Regions from separate parts of the Homo sapiens genome. Here region 1 is linked to region 2. Evidence: promoter capture Hi-C in human tissues and cell types (Jung and others, 2019). All regions are on one chromosome and are shown on one strand. The core of a region is centred on a gene start or on the middle of the fragment in contact, and the rest is flanking DNA. Distances in the headings are between cores, read along the strand shown.

The links. The method cuts DNA at HindIII sites, captures the fragments that hold promoters and counts their contacts. A contact is called where the count stands out against the background at its distance.
Region 1: a contact is called between a fragment that was not itself captured here and the fragment with the promoter of SOX5 in region 2, in 2 of the 25 tissues and cell types used here (dorsolateral prefrontal cortex and mesenchymal stem cells).

What each region holds. Positions count from the first base shown.
Region 1 is chr12:23,856,404-23,859,103 of GRCh38, reverse strand. All of the region lies in intron 2 of SOX5 (SRY-box transcription factor 5), which reads left to right. Among named protein-coding and RNA genes, the nearest start is that of SOX5, 92 kb to the left of the region's middle. The HindIII fragment of the contact is 4,066 bases long and covers 1-2,700 here.
Region 2 is chr12:23,948,303-23,951,002 of GRCh38, reverse strand. SOX5 (SRY-box transcription factor 5) reads left to right here and starts at 1,333. Exons shown (of 15, transcript NM_006940.6): 1 at 1,333-1,439. The coding sequence starts at 1,402. The HindIII fragment of the contact is 5,378 bases long and covers 1-2,700 here.

The DNA.
Region 1 (2,700 bases), core at 45-2,544, 92 kb after region 2:
ATTTCATATTGTTCAAACACACATGTTTTACAATTTGTACAGTTAACGCAATCATCACAGGGTCCTGAAGTGACATACATCCTCAGCTAATGAAGATGATGGGATTAAGAGATTAAAGACAGGTGCAGGAAATTATAAGAGTATTGATTAGGGAAGTGATAAATGTCAATGAAATCTTCATAATTTATGTTCAGAGATTGCAGTAAAGACAGGCATAAGAAATTATAAAAGTATTAGTTTGGGGAACTAATAAATGTCCATGAAATCTTCACAGTTTATGTTCTTCTGCCATGGCTTCAGCTGGTCCCTCCGTTCAGGGTCCCTGACTTTCTGCAACAGTAAACAGTGCTGCAATGAACATTCACATGCAGGTTTCTGTAGAATGCCTTATATTCCTCTGGGTATATACTCAGTAATAGGATTGCTGAGTCAAATGGTAGTTCTGGCTTTAGTTCTTTGAGGAGTCACCATACTACTTACCACAATGGTTGAACTAATTTACACTCCCACCAACAGTGTATAAGGGTTCCCTCTTCTCTGCAACCTCACCAGCACCTGTTGTTACTTTCTGACTTTTTAATAATAGCCATTCTGACTGGTGTGAGATGGTATCTCGCTGTGGTTTTTATTTGAATTTCTCTAGTGATCAATAATATTGAGCTTTTTTTCATATGCTTGTTGGGTGCATGTGCGTCTTCTTTTGAGAAGTGTTTGTTCATGTCCCTTGCCCAATTTTAAATAGGGCTGTTTGTTTCTCTCTTGTTAATTTTAGTTCCTTATAGATGCTGGATTTTAGACCTTTGTGAGATGCATAGTTTGCAAATATTTTCTCCCATTCTGTAGGTTGTCTTTTTACTGTGTTGATAGTTTCTTTTGCTGTGCAGAGGCTCTTAAGTTTAATTAGTGATTTATTATTATTATTTTTTAGCGCTTCTCATAGGAAAGTAACATACATTGTAAAAAAACAAACAAAAAAACAACAAAGTGCACATATATGTACCTGCCTTGCATATACACACACACACACACACACATACAGGCATATTAAATTACAAATAAAAAAAACTCTTGGCCGGGAATGGTGGCTCATGCCTGTAATCCCAGCACTTTGGGAGGCCGAGGCAGGCAGATCACCTGAGGTCAGGAGTTCAAGACCAGCCTGGCCAATATGGCGAAACCCCGTCTCTACTAAAAATACAAAAAATTAGCCAAGTGTGGTGGCAGGCACCTGTAATCCCACCTACTCAGGAGGCTGAGGCAGGAGAATCGCTTGAACCTGGGAGGGGGAGGTTGCAGTGAGCCAAGATCGTGCCACTGCACTCCAGCCTGGGCTACAGAGCAAGACTCCACCTCAAAAAAAAAAAAAAAGAAAGAAAAAACTTCCTAAGTACACTGTCATCGATTATCACACATTGTGTATAGAGTATCTAACCATCTAAAAGTGGCTATTAGCCTTTTTCCATATGCCTTACACATTCCTGTCATTGTCCCTATAGAAGTAACTATCACCAGGCTATGGATGAAGAGGGAAGGGCAATGTACTCTGGAATGTGAACAAAAATAATCTGAATATATAAGGTTTGGAAAAGCTCCTTTCTGAGTGTAACCTATTTTCCAAAACAGTTGATAATCACAGATGACAGATAGATTTGATGGTTCTTTTCAACTCCCACTGCTACAATCTAGTGGAAGGCCTTTTATTGTCACATATGTGTCATGGTAACAGTTTCCTATTCAGTGGAGATCTTTACTTTCTCCTCTACCCAATTAATTCTACATACCACTGCTAGACTAATCTTCCTAACAAGCTACTTTAATAGAATCACTCACTGTAGATCAACAATAGTTCTCCATTGCCTGCTAGGTCAAATGTAAACTACCCTACTTGACTTTCATGACCCTTCATGAAATGACTCTCCTATATTAGTCTTCTATTTATTATTCTTCATTTCTTTTGGTTAAGCCACTTCCTTCATTGTAGTGTGTGTGTATATGCACTGTAAAATTTCCTGGGTGGTGCCTCTGGGAATGCTCTGTATCTTTTCCTCTTCACTTATTTCTTCTAGGCTTAAACTAAATGACTCTCTATACATGAAGATTTAATAAATTAATAATTAACTCAATATGAATTTATGGAACATTAATAACAAGGCATAGTGTGTGTGTGAATAATCAGACATGTTCCCTGTCTTCATGGTATAGAAAGAAAATTAAATGAACAATCCTAAAAGAGTGTGATTAGTACTATGATAAGAAGTTTTCCATTTTTCTTTGATTTCTAGCATTCTCTCTTCTCTAAACTTCTCTTGCATGTATAATTTGCTACTCTAAAAATTAGTACTTATTATAGTTGTTATGATTACTAATTATTTCAGGTGCATTTCAGTGCCTCTCAAATTTAATTTTAAACTCTTTGAAGAGAGAGAAAACCAGCTTTATTTTCTTATACCTTTGGCATATCTTGCAGCACCTGAATCAGTTGAGGAAGCTTAATGATGACCACAGCAAGGAGTTTAGAATTGAATCTTAGGTTTAATTCTCCAATTTACCATTTCCTACTATTATTTTGGGTAAACTACTTTTAGAACTTTAATTTCATCATATGTTAAATAGCAATAACATTTTTCAGGGAATTTCTCTGAGAATTATTTGTTAAAAGCCCATAGAACATTTGCAACAGTGCCTTTAAGAACTCCAAAA
Region 2 (2,700 bases), core at 84-2,583:
GTGTGTGTGTGTGTGTGTGTGTGTGCATGCGTGTGTGAAGAATGCACACTATCTCCTGTTGGTAAGTGTGTGCTTACTCCCTGACCAGATGCTGCGGTGCACGGGGCAGCCACCATCTCTGCATGCATGTCTGTGTAAGTGTCTCTCTCTCTGTGTGTATGTGCCTCTGTCATTTCGTGTCAAAGGTACATTACCTGATTACCTTTCTCGGCTGCCAGATTTTTATCTAGATAATTGGAACTGCTATGGAGGCTGTGCCTTGCCAGCCAGCTTAGAATCTGTAAAGCCATAGTTTGTCCACCTTGTTATCTGTGGCTGCCTGGGCAGAGGAAATTAAAGAGATCCACAGCCAGGGGGGCGCTTCCTACTCCTGACCTCCCCAGCGATCCCAAACAGGACAGTTTGTTAGTACCGTCTTTTTGTTTTTATGTTTTGATTTCGTTTTGGGTTTTTGTTCGCTCGTGTATGTTATTTTGGCATGTGGATACCTATTCCCCTCCACATCGCACATCGTGTTTTATGGAGTTTAGAGCTGAGGAAACTTTGGTCGGGTTGCCAGGACGTTCGCACCACTTTGCGGAAAGCACGAGCTAACAGTGAGACCGACAGAGTGAGTGACAAGTTGTTTACAGGTTTCCTTGAAGGGGCCTCTGCTATATTTCAATCTGTCAAAGTTGCTTTTCTTCCCTCAGAACAATGCCTGATTGTTGTGTGTGTGTGAGTGTGTGTGTGTGTGTGTGCGTGTATTTCCGTGTGTGAACGGAGAGAGCCTAGAAAAGGGTGAGAAGGAATAACAATTCTTTGTGTAAAAATGCTATTACTAACATTAAATTTTTTGCTTAATTAGTTAATAAATGCAGTTTAATCGAGCTTCTGTTATTATATAGACTAGGTTTTTAATCAGCAGCAAATACGTTTTACAAAATCATACTGTTCTGCGTGTGTATGTGTGTGTGTGAGTTTTATGATTTAGAAGACAGAGTATGGGAGACGTGTTAAATGAGTTGACTTCTCACATTCAGTGATGTCTAGAAGAGAGAATTAAAAGGAAAGGACAGGCACCCTGAGGTTGTCTAGAGCCTTGCAGCCGGAGCGTGTGGCTCCGCGGAGGGGGGAGCAGCCAGACTCCGCTGCTGGAAGTGCACTACCCCTTTAAGAGACTGGTCAAGGAGTCCTAGGAGAGAGAGGAGGGGAAGGAGGGGGGGAGAAAGAGAGAGAGAGAGAGAGAGAGAGAGACAGAGAGAGAGAGGGAGAGAGAGAGAGAGAGAGAGGGAGGGAGGGAGGGGGGGAAGAGACAGAGAGAAAATCAATTGGTTTAGAAGGTTTGGACTCACTTGACAGGTTCAGTTGGAGACGATCATAGGTGGCTGCTGTGACAAAGGGAAATTGTGCTTTTCCAGCATGCTTACTGACCCTGATTTACCTCAGGAGTTTGAAAGGTGAGTACAGTTTTTTCCCCCTAATATATTGAAGTACAACTCTCCCATTTTACAGTAGTCTCTGAATCATTGGAAGATGCTCCCCCAAAACGTGTTTGTTAGAGAAGCCTTTAGCTAGGGCTTCTGCAATCTTGTTAGCTGATTTTTTGTTGTGATTGCCCGGACCAAACTGAACTGATTTGCAAAGTCTCCGAGATTTCTGCTAATGTTTTTAGGTTGCGTCCTATAACAGCAAATTAAATGAACCTTAAGCATCTCTCTCTCTCTCCCCAACTCGCTGCTTCTGTCTTTCTCATTCACTCTCTTACTTTCTTCCTTCATTGATTGTTTTCTCCCCACCTTTTAAAAACGCTTTTGTGCAGAATGTTACCATTTTCAGCATCTCTGTCTCATGTAATTTCTAGGGTGACAGAAGGTTTTAGTGGTGCTTTAAACGGAGGCTATAAGTTCCTATTTGATCCTTCCGTAAAACTTTGGAAGCTGCTCAGTAAAGCACATGACCTTTTGTTGATATAAGAGAGCGTTTTTTCCCCCCAAAGAAAATTTAACATCATCGCTATATTAGATTACTCCCTAAGTGTCAAAAATAGGGGCGAAAAGGGGATAAATGGAGCTGTTCCCTTTCTAAGTTTTAGTGGCCACTTTTTGTGTTAGCTGTCTTGACTGAATTTTAATTTACTGTATTTTCCCCTTTTGCTATGATGGGAATAGTGTATTTGTAATTAAGTTGTTCCTATTTAGAGAAATATCTGCAGCATCCTTTTATTTGATGTTGTTGCAAGTAAAGCAGGGCTTTGAAAGAATTTTAGCCCTCTTAATGTTCCTATAAGTACACATTGCAATTTTTAAATTTGAGTTCTTATCCCAGCATAAGTTCATTTTTTTGAACTATAAATAGAATTTTGTTTGCCATTAAAAAGAATTCAAACTTTGTATTCTGTATGGTGAATTAAAAAAAAAAAAGCTAAAAAAAGCCAGGATGCATGATACCCAGGCTTTTTTTCATTTTCATGAAAGCTACCTTCTGTATAAACATTTGTTGTATCTGACTATGCAATGCAAGCTAGGTGCTAGACCAGCTGGTTAAAAATATGCTAAGTCAAGCTGTTCATCGCTCAAACGACTGAATTTGATATGAAAAGACGAAAAAAGAAAGGACAAAGATTAAAACATTCTAGAAGTGAAGCAATGGAAGAGAAAAAGAGTATTGAGGATAAAGTAACGCTTGAATGTGGTCACATATTAGAAAAGCCAGTATCAA